Linked DNA regions of Homo sapiens: region 1 is linked to region 2. The links are contacts of gene promoters, found by promoter capture Hi-C in human tissues and cell types (Jung and others, 2019). All regions are on one chromosome and are shown on one strand. Each heading gives the region's core, a stretch centred on a gene start or on the middle of the fragment in contact. The rest is flanking DNA. Distances are from core to core; before and after follow the strand shown.

Region 1 (5,702 bases), core at 1,478-3,977, 69 kb after region 2:
GTCTGGTTCTGAGAGCCCAAAGACTCCAGGCAGCAGTGCTGGAAGCAGGGCCAGAAGGTGCAGCTGGAGCCGCAGAGCCGGGTCTGGTTCAAGTCTAGGATGACACCGTCATCACAGCACTGCTCCAAGGGGTTGTAGGTCCACTCCCCGCACCTGGGCGCTGGCTGGCATAGCCACAGTCTAAGATCTGGAAGAGTCGGGGCTGGATGGGCTGCAAGGACCAGCCTAGGACCACCTCCCCACCAACCTTAATGCTGTTCTCTCCTCCCTCACTGCATCTGTTCTCACCTGTGACTCCTTCTGAGTTTGAACCCAAAAGTTCAAAAATGAAGATGGCAGCTGAGAAGCAGAAGGAGAGCGAGAATGATTCTGAGGTCACTAGGTCTTGACCACGGGGCACAGGATGATGTCTCTGAGCTTCTCTGGTTGCTGTTAACAGCTCAGAGTGGATTTTGGGACTGGCTGTGGGTGCAGGTCCTGGGGACTGGGCTTGGCAGGTGAGGAAAGGCAGGGAGGGCTCTGGGAAAAGTTAAGCTTCTGGAATTTGCAGTTCAGGAGACAGATTACAATGCAGTCACAGATGACATAGCAGTGATTATGAGGTGGGACACCAATAATTAAATAGGGAAGAGAGAATTAACTTTGAAGTTCAGAAATAATTAGGGATGTGATATCATTAGGGATTAGCTTAGCCTAGGGCTGGGGTCTCCTTACCAGAAATTCTGGGCACCATGGGTTAGGCTTCAGAGCAGCGGACGAGGGAGCAGCAGTGGAAATGGGTCAGTGACTTTACATAGGGGCTTATATAGGATATGAACTTACCGCCATTTAGGGAGGTGTGCAGAAGGAGTGGTTTCTTGGGAAGAGTTAGGCAAAAAGAGCTGCAGGGAACATAAATAATTCATCAAAAGCTTAATGAGATGCTTCTGGACCTGTTCCAAGTGGTTGCTGCCTCCTCAGACCCTTCAGATCCTCAGGGTAAAGGCTACCCAGGAACCTATCTAAGCTTTGACTCTGCTGAGTGTCTTTCTTTGAACACCGCCCAAGGGAAAACCACTTGGAAGATATTCCTTAACTCTTGCTTATCTAAGATCAAATTACTCACCAAACACCGGCTGTCTCTAGGCTCCCCATATTCCTCCACCCTGAAGTTTCAAGGAGTCCCTCTACTCCCCGTCTCAGTTCACCTGCAGACCTGCACTGTCTATAATTTTTCAGAGTCACGTAGGAGAATTTGTGAAGTTGCAGCATAATCTAGAAGAACAGCAGGGGCTGCAAAACTGTGCCAGGGAGAACAACAACAACAAAAATAGGCGGTGGTAGGATGGATCTCTGGGATTCCAGATAGGAAAGCAGCACCTTTTTTTTTTTTTTGGTTTGTGGAGTGCCTTGTCCAAGAAAATGCTCCTGTGTGTCTCACTGTGTGATGGGATTACATGTGGCGTATTTTTAGAGCATGCCCCTCCATTTTCCACTGGTTTCTTCCCTGTGTCACAGTGAGAAGGGTGGGAGGGTGAAAGAAGGATAAGGCACAGGTATTAGAGCTTTGTAAAAGTGCATTGTTAGTATAGACTCTCTAGAGTCTCTTCCTCCTCCCTCCTCTCTCTCTTTTTTTTTTTTTTTTTTTGAGACACCGTATCTCTCTGTCTCCCAGGCTGGAGGGCAGTGGTGCTATCTTTGCTCACTGTAACCTTTGCCCCCCAAGTTGAAGCCATCCTCCCACCTCAGCCTCTTGAGTAGCTGGGACTACAGGCAGGCACCTCCTGGCCTGGCTAATTTTTTTGTATTTTTCATAGAGTTAGGGTCCTACAATGTTCTGGTCTTGGAATCCTGAGCTCAAGCAATCCACCTGCCCCAGCCTCCCAAAGTGCATTGATTTTGTTGTTGTTGTGCTTATTTGCACTCCAGCCTGGCCTCTCCTTTCTTGACTGGATGTCCAAGTCTTCGGTATTGATTTCATGCAATAAACTAGCTCTCCTCGCCTATTTCTGCAGTTGCGTATTTGCATAGATATGTCTGTTTGTCTGCTTATCAATATGCCTTCTCCTTTCCCACACATCCAAACAGAAATCCCACCTGTAAAGACACATTCTCTCACCTACACAGAACAGCTGCTGCGGAAACAGACCTATAAGAACTACATTCCTGTTTATCAAGTTAAGTAGTGTGAATACCGCATTATAACTCCGAGCCAGCAACCAAGAAATTTATGACCACTTGAAAGGGAAAGCTGCAATGAAGAGTACAAGTGACTAAGGAGGGAAATCCCAAAGCTGATTACTAGAATTGATCTCTGTATAATTGAACTATCTATGTAGAAAATCCCACGGAACCCACTGTCAAGCAAGAGGTGAGTCTGACAGATTCTGTTAGTGACAAAAACAAGCTCTTTTTAGATTCAGACACTTTATTACTTACACAGACAGGGAAAGAAAGAGCCACAGGTGCCAGCACCATGTCCCTTATACAGGGTGACACTGAAACAAAAGGGCCAGATGACTGAACAAGAATAATAGGATGCCTGTTGCTGAGTAGAGAATCCAGCCTGTGGCTCCATGGTATAGGGAGGTAGAAAGCCTCATCCCTCCCTAGAAGCCAGAGGCAGTGAGAAGCTGTGTCATGGCGGCCTCCCTTATCCATAGGGAAGTGAGTGACAAGTGATGCTGTAGCAGCTTCCCACAAGCCTCCCATGACCTCACGTTCTGGGAAGACCAGAGAGTGTTCTGCCATGACATACATCAGCTACAGTTAATTTCACCAACGTGGCCCACGTGGAGATGTTTGAGGTCGCCGGGGCAGTAGGGCAGAGCCATTACCGTAAACCTACCCCCAAAGCTCCGGGAACTAATAAGTAAATTTAGATGGTTGTAGAATACAAAGTCAACACACAAAAATCAATTGTATTTCTCGCTCCTGGAATAAGTGGAAACAAAAATTTAGAGGGGAACAATGCCATTTATAATGCCCCCCTACTGAAATTGAATACTTAGGTATACTGTAAATCTAGGAGAACATGTAGAGGATATATATGCTTAAAACTATAAACTAGTGATTAAAGTAATCAAGGAAAACCTAAATATAGAGTGGTATATCATGTCATAGTTTAGAATATGGGGCTTTTTAGCTAAGATGTCAATTCTCTCCAAATTGTCTACAGATTTAACACAATTCCAATGAAAACCCAAGCAGGATTTGTCTCAGATAGAAGCAAAATAATTCTAGAATTTATCTGGAAAGGCAGTGGAAACAAGAATGGCCCAAACAATTTTGGTTGATGAAAAATGTTGGAGGACTCACACTACCCAATTTCACAATTACTCCAGCTACACTAATGAAGACAGTATAGTATTGGCAAGTGGAGAGATACATAGATCAATGGAGCAGAACAGATTTCAGAAATAAACCCAAACAAACATGGCAAATTGACTTTTGACAAAGATGCAAAAGCAATTCAATGTGGGAAAAGATAGTCATTTCAACAAATGGTGTGGGACAATGGGCATGCATATGAAAAAAAAAATCTTCTACCAAAGCTTACACTTCCTACAAAATTTAACTCCAAAATGATCTAGATATAAAAAGTTAAACTATACATTTTCTAGAAGAAAACATAAAAAAAATCCTTATGACTTAGGGAAAAGATACAAAAAACATTGTCCATTTAAAAAATGGATAGATCAGGAAGCGGGCAAGATGGCTGACTAGAAGCAGCTGTGGTCCACCGCACTCACAGAGAGGAATGAAAGGAGTGAGTGAATTCAGCATCTTCAACTGAAATATACAGGTTGTCACTCTCAACCCATGGAGAACGAAGAAATGCAGGGTAGGGTGATGGTCCACCCAGGAGCAGTGTGGAGGTATGGGGACTCCTGCCCCCAGCCAAGTGAAGCAGTGAGTGATTGTGCAACCCTGCCTGGGAAACCATGCTTCTCCCATGGATATTTGCAACCTTAGGATCAAGAGATCCCCACATAAGCCCACGCCCAGAGATTTGGGTCCAATACACAGAGCTGTGTGGAGTCTTGGCAGAGCGGCCACAGGGGCACTCACAGAGACCCAGGAGTTTTACGTACTCTGGCCCTGGGATCTGCAGCAAGGGAGGACATCCCTCCATACATATTTCTATGAAGGGGGCTGAATCCAGAGAACCAAGCAGTGTCATTCTGTGGACCCCACTTCCACAGCACCTCACAAGTTAAGACCCAGTGGCTTGGAATTCCAGCCAGCCAACAGCAACAGGCCGGAGTCTGCCTGGGTCAGGACCAAGTTCCTGGGGTGGGGGTGTCGTGGGGGCAGTCACCATCTCTGTGGTTCAGTAGACTCAGCCATTCTAGCCTGCCAGCTTTGGAGAATACAAATGGTCCAGATGAGGAAGGGTTCCCCACAACACAGCACATCTGCCTTGCCAGATTGTAGCTAGACTGCTTCTTTAAGTGGTTCCCTGACCCCATTCCTCCTGACTGGGTGAGACCTCCTAACAAGGGTCTCCAGCCACCTCCTACAGGGACGTTTGGGTCAACAACTGGTCAGAGGAAGGAGCAGGCTGCCATCTTTGCTGTTTTGCAGCCTTCACTGGTGACACCTTCAGGTACGGGAAAAACGGAGGCAACCAGGGTCTTGAACAAACCCCCAGCACACCACAGCAGCCCTGTGGAATAGTGGCCTGACTGTTAAAAGAAAAACAAACAGAAAACACCAACAACATCAGCAAAAAAGACCCCACAGAAACCTCATTCAAAGGTCAGCAACTTCAAAAATCAAAGGTAAACCCACACAGATGAGAAAGAATCAATGCAAAAATGCTGAAAACTCAAAAAGCCAGAGTGCTTCTTCTCTTCCAAATGACCACAGTACCTCTCCAGCAAGGGCACAGAACTGGGCTGAGACCGAGATGGCTGAATTAACAGAAGTAGTTTTAAGAAGGTGGGTAATAGGCCAGGCGCAGTGGCTCACACCTTTAATCCCAGCACTTTGGGAGGCCGAGGCAGGTGGATCACGAGGTCAGGAGTTAGAGACCAGCCTGACCAACATGGTGAAACCCCCTCTCTACTAAAAATACAAAAGTTAGCTGGGCATGGTGGCACATGCCTATAATCCCAGATGCTGAGGAGGCTGAGGCAGGAGAATCGCTTGAACCCGGGAGGCAGAGGTTACAGTGAGCTGAGATCGCGCCACTGCACTCCAGCCTGGGTGACAAGAGTGAAACTCTGTCTCAAAAAAAAAAAAGAAAAAGATGGGTAATAATGAACTTCACTGAGCTAAAGGAGGATGTTGTATCCCATTGCAAATAAGCTAAGAATCATGATAAATTATACAGGAGCTGACAGAATAGCCAGTTTAGAGAGGAACATAACTGACCCAATGGAACTGGAAAACACAAGAACTTCACAATGCAATCATAAGTATCAGTTACAGAATAGTTCAAGCAGAGGAAAGAATTTCAGAGCTTAAAGACCGTCCTTCTGAAATTATACAGGCAGACAAGAATAGAGAAAAAAGAACAAAAAGAACTGAACAAAACCTCTGAGAAATATGTAAAGAGACAGAATCTATGACTGATTGGGGTACCTGAAAGAGACAGGGAAATTGGAACCAAGTTGGAAAACATACTCCAGGATATCATCCAGGAGAACTTCCCCAAACTTGCAAGACAGGCCAACATTCAAATTCAGTAAATACAGAGAACCCCAGTGAGATACTCC
Region 2 (5,838 bases), core at 1,587-4,086:
GGTTGGGTAAATTCTAGCTCCATCACTTAGAAACCGTGTGACCTTGGGCAAGCGGTTTCATTTTGCTGAGCCTCAGTTTTCCTCATCTGTAAAGATGCTCAAATCATGTCTCCCAGGGGTTGTACTGAGATATTAACCCATGTCTCAGAGTAGTAGGTGCCAAGTAGGCAGATGTGACTGTTATTAGCAGCAGTGGCATCAGTGTTAAGTTGTGCTGAGAAGTGATCAGATTCTAAGCATCTCAGTCCCTGTAGAGAAAGGTGGGAACCCCCTACCCTCTGGAGGACGGTGGTGGAGGGCTAGACAGTCTGGCTGGGCTCAGGGACCTCCTGGGTCCCTGACCTCTCCAGGACTGGGAACAGCAGTGGGGCAGGAAGGAGGGAAGGAAGTCGGGGACATATTCATGTGTGTGCTGGGGGTGGGGGAGCAGGAAGAAGGACAGGAAACTCCCTCCCATCCCCTCCCCCAACTTCCCTTTCCTCCAATTTCTGCTGGACACCCTCACAGGCATCCAGGGGGTCCCTGATTCCTGTCCCACCTGGATGGAGGTGGGGGAGGGCTAGGATGGGAGGAAGAAAGTCGGCTTGTATTCATCTGTAGGGAGGAGGTAGGAGGCCCCCACCCCACCCACTGCCAGGCCTGGCGGAGAGGAAAGGGTGCACTCTGCCTGAAGCCATCCCTCTCCCATCCGGAGGAAAAGGCCAGAGGAAGTGGAGATTTTGGCAAGGTGACCGCGGGGAGGGGCTTGTCCGCTGCGGGGTCTCCCTCCTACCAGGGAGCTAGAGGACAGGGCTCTGAGGACCCCAAAAAACCCCACCTCTTCCCTGAGCCCCCCACGGCAGGGCATGCACCTAGAGTTCCCAGCTCGGCTTTTCTTCTCTGGTACACACACCTCCTTGGGTCACACACCCAGGGAGAGCCCCTCTCTTCCCTCACACTGCCTTCCGTGGTGTCAAACATTCGGCAATCTCCAATACACACGGACACACACACAGCCTCCCTTGTCAAACACATGCAGAATCATCCCCATATCTCTGGTGTCACACACTCAGCCATTTCACACACACACCTCTCCTTGTTACACCCATACACACAGCTGGGTGTCATATGCACACGTGCCCTGTCACATGGGGACCCATCCTTCCTTCTCCTTTTTACACACCCTCGTGCGTTTCACCCACAAGCCCCAGCCTCTCCCTCGTCATACACCCACCTTCCCTGTTGCACACACCCCCTCTGATGTCACTGTTGCACACCTCCATGTGTCACACCCAGCCACAGCCTCTCTGGAGTCACACCCACACCCTTTTCTTGTCACATCCCCTCACCAGCCACGCCTGTGTCACACACACTGGACCCCTTTCCTCTGATCTACACGGCCTCTTCTGGCTGACACCCAGAGCCAGCCCATTCGGTGTCCCCCACACACCTCCTTGCATGTCACACACACCCTCTCATGTGTCACACTCTGCCACAGCCCCCTTGGGGGTGACAAGCACACACCTTTCCTTGTCACACGTACCCGCTGGAGGGTCTCAAACATGGAGCCCAGCCCCTGTCCCCTGTCTTTCTCATACACCCCCCTATGCTGTCATATTCCTGATCCCTAATGTCACACATCCAGGCTGTAGAGGGCACACATACACACACACGCACACACATACACACCTGTCCTAGCCTCACATTCTCCCACCTAGCTTTACACACCCACCATTTCCTCCATTTCACCCCACACACCTACCCAGCCTGTCCCCACGCACGATCCGGCCAGGGCCACACAAGCCTCCATCTGGGACAACCCTTGTTCAGGACATCCCCAGGGAGGGAGGCTGGGAAGCTCCCGGTCCACAGGCCTCTACTCCTTCCCCTCCCCCAGCCAGGACACGCGAGCTCGGGGAACACCCCTGCTCCGAAAGGGTCACATCACACACCCCTCAAGGACACACAGACACCTGCCCTGAGGCTCCCACGCCCCCCATCTTCTGCGCCCCCCAAGGACACTTATCACCCCCTCCCCCCCACCCCTCTCCTCGCAGACAAAGCTCCCAGCCCCGGGCCTCAGCGAGAGGAGGAGGGGGTCCAGCCCCCTCCTCAACTCCCCGCTCTGTCCCCCGCCTCGGGGAGGGGTGTCTCTCCCCTCCCCAGAGCCCTTGCACCTGCCACGGGAGGGGGGGAAAGGATGGAGAAAGGCGAGGCCCCCTGCCCGCTCCCCCGCCCCGAGCCGCAGCCCTTTCTCACCTCCCGTGTTGCTGCGCTTGGTGCAGACCACCTCGGGGGGCGTTTCGAGGGGCCTCTTGCGGGAATCCGGGGCCTCGGGCTCCATGGGGGGGGCCTGGGGCGGCGGCTGCTGCTGCTGCGGCGGCTGCGGCGGCGGCGGCGGCGGCTGCTGTGGCGGCGGCGACGGCTGCTGGGGAGGCTGGGGTTGCGGCGGCGGCGGCGGCGGGGGCGGCGGCGGCTGCGGGGCCGCGGAGGCCGTGAAGAGGCCGTGCACCGCGCCGGCGGCCATCATCCTCATGGTGGGGGGGGGCGGGGGGCGGGGGGCGGGGGAGGGGGAGGGGAGGGGAGGTGGGAGGGGGAGGGGGCGGTGGAGGGATGGGGGAGGGGGAGCCCCGGAGAGGGAAGGCGGGGGTAGGGGGGAGCCGGTTCTCGGGGGGCTGACAGAGCCTGGAGAGCGGCCGTGAGCAGGATGGCAGGGCCGAGGGGGGTCTCCGATAGGGCCGGGAAAGAACTGAGAGGTGGGGTCTCTCCTGGGACCACAGAGGCTGGGGACTGGACGCGCCACTGGGGGGACGGGACTCCCCGCTTCTTCTTGGCTCCCTGGGGCAAGAGGGCCGAGCCCCCCAGACCCTGCTCGGGGTGGGGGGCCGGAGGAGCGTGGCCGGAGTGGGAGGCGGAGGCGGCCGCTAGTGGGGGCCCGGGGGGCGGCGGGCGCGGGCGGCGGCGGCGACGGGGCTGGCGGTGGCTGCTGGCCCGAGCATCTTCTTCCCGGAGGCTCCCACAGCGCCTGGCCCCTCCCACCCAACGAGGTCACGCCCATGCCGGGTAGGGCCACGCCCTTCGGCGCCCCCATTGGTCCAGCCTTGAAGCCTGGACCACGTCCCTCTGGGTTGGCCACGCCCCTCCCGGCGGCAGAGAGCTGGACCCGACTCCCCCAGGCTGCTGGGAGGACCCCGGGCTCCTCCAAGCCGTCCCCACTCCTCACCTTGAATGAACGTTTATTGAGCACTTACTGTGTGCCAGGTCCGGTTCCAAGCAAGCACGTCACAGACGTTATCGCATTTACTCCCCAGAGCGACCAGCTCTGTGAGTTACGCTTATTATCCCTATTTTACAGATGAGGAAACAGCCTTAGGAGCTTACTTTGACTTCACTTGGTCAAGACAAGAAATTTCGACTAGGCGCGGTGGTTCATGCCTGTCATCCCAGCACTTTGGGAGGCCGAGGCGGAAGAATCACTTGAGCCCAGGAGTTTGAGACGAGCTGGGCAACAATATTGTGAGACCCCATCTCTACAAAAAAAAAATTTTTTTTTTAATTAGCCAGGCGTGGTAGCACATGCTTGTAGCCCCAGGTACTCTGGAGTCTGAGGTGGGAGGATCTCTTGAGCACAGGAGTTTGAGGCTGCAGTCAGCCATGATCAAGCAACTAGATTCGAGCCTGGGAGACAGAGCAAAACCTTGTCTCAAAAAAAAAAAAAAAAAAGAAAGAAAGAAAGAGAAAGAAATTTCACTTCACTCTTTTTCAATCCTTTCAGCTGGGAAATTCCCCTTCAAATCTTTCATCCATCCTTTGAAGAATCAACACCGTGATGCTGAAAGGGCTCAGAGGATTGAATTCACTGAGCTGGAGTTGCAGCCTGCAGCACCTGCCCTGGGGCACAACTGGCTCTCCATTCAAACAACAGCACTCAGGGCCTACCTACTAAGTGCCAGGCACTGTCCCTGATGCTGCGATACAATAGAGAACAAAACAGCCTTGGCCCTTGTACAGTATTACTACTCATGTCATTAAGAAAAATTTGTTTTCAGATGACAAAGTGGAGGCCTGGGAACATTGAGGGTGGCTTCTTCAAGGGCACACAGCTTGAGAGAGAGAAACTGGGATGAGAACGCAGGACAAGTCCAATTTCAGAGCCCAAAGTCATTGGAACTAGGGTGCCTTTCTTTGGAATGGATCATTGCTATTATTCTGTGTTCCTTGATGCAAGAATTTCCTTCTCCCTGGGTTCTTAACCTCCAAGGAATCTTTCCTTCCTGGGTTGGTCAGAGGCAAGATTAGGCTCAGAAGGGGTCTGGATGCAGGTAATTGTGGCCACTGCGTGATCTGCGGCAGGGGGATCGGCTCCAACCCCCCCCTGCTCCTCCCTTGCCATGCTCTCAGGTCCCCAGGATGGGGGAGGGTAGCAGATGGCCTGGGGTGGATGGGGTGGCTACCCATCTGTCCCCTCCCCCCCATTGTCCCCAGAGCCAAGGGGGATGGGAGGGGGCTGTGGTCCACTGCAGTCTGGATCCTCCCCCTCCATCTTCCTGGAGGGAGCTGAGGAGCTGGTTGCCATGGAGATGGGGAAGAGGCAAGACGGATATAGGGAGATACGGGGGTCAGGCTGAGTACCACACCTTAGACCCTTTGAGTCAAATAGCCTCACACCACACAGGTACATATCCCAACATCCATGAAATTAGCTGTGAAGTTTCCCCCTCTGTGTGACACACACAGAGTCACACTGGCCCTGCTGCAGGTGCACGGTCTCAACACAGTCACACAGACACACTTATAGGGGATAGGCACACGTACACACACATACACACTCATCTGTAATGCACATTCAGTCATGCAGACGCAAGGCCACAACACAGGCTCTCATACACAAATAGACAGACACACATCTAATATGCAGGTATGTCCCAGGTACACACATTCAGAGCCACGACAGCTCCACACTTGGCCCCACACACTCGGAAAAGTTACAAATCCATGATCAAAGCCACAGGACATCCATGGCCTATGTTACATAAGACATATCAGCGACATGTGATGTATAGACTGACGAACAGACTAAGTCTTTCCTTGCACACAAATTGGGTAAACACACACAACACACACATTTAGATACACGGCCCACATAGGCTAACGCACACAATAACTGGACTTCACGGGCCACTCAGTGACACGCACAACACACATGGAAAGCTGTGTGCCGCTCAGCCCCCACCCCCGAGGCATGCCTGCAGCCCCAACCCTGCGCTCCCCCCATCGAGCCCTCCCGTTTGGACACACACAACAGCACGGTCGGTCACGCACTCACACTCACACACAAACACAAACCTCCTGCTAGATATTTTTAAACCCGGGCTAGTTCTGCTGCCATGGCAACCGCCCCAAACCCATCACCATAGCAACCCAACGTCAGCTTTCCAAGCACCAAATCCTGGGGGACTGCAGGGCCCCAATCAGAGGCTGGCGGAGGGGGCTGCTGCACCCTTTGCCATCATCCATGCCACCCTTGTGCCCCCACCCCAGAGCTTTCAGGGGAGCAGTCACCCTAGTCTGGGCAGGGGCCAGAGTCAGGGACATCAGAGACCCCCACCAAGCTGGGGCAGGGGATCCCCGAACCTGCCTTTTCCTTCCAACCTGGCAGAGCTATATGGAGGGGCTCGTTGGAGTGAAGGTCAGCTTACAGAAGCCTGGGTTTGAGTTCTGGCCCTGCCATTTACATGCTGTGTGACTTGGGCATGCCCTTACCCTTTCTGAGTCTCTCATTCTTTAATTTGGAAAATGTTGCTGCTGCTGTTAATACCCCCTTTATTTTTATTTTATTTTTTATTTTTTAATTTTTTG

What was found. Contacts are between HindIII fragments. The study calls those that stand out against the background at their distance.
Region 1: a contact is called between a fragment that was not itself captured here and the fragment with the promoter of NOVA2 in region 2, in 2 of the 25 tissues and cell types used here (hippocampus and mesenchymal stem cells).

What each region holds. Positions count from the first base shown.
Region 1 is chr19:46,040,230-46,045,931 of GRCh38, forward strand. It overlaps IGFL4 (IGF like family member 4), which reads right to left and starts at 773. Exons shown (of 4, transcript NM_001002923.3): 1 at 715-773; 2 at 289-339; 3 at 1-187. The coding sequence starts at 733. The HindIII fragment of the contact is 4,011 bases long and covers 723-4,733 here.
Region 2 is chr19:45,971,029-45,976,866 of GRCh38, forward strand. NOVA2 (NOVA alternative splicing regulator 2) reads right to left here and starts at 2,837. Exons shown (of 4, transcript NM_002516.4): 1 at 2,239-2,837. The coding sequence starts at 2,323. RefSeq lists a silencer at 3,003-3,162. The HindIII fragment of the contact is 35,305 bases long and covers 1-5,838 here.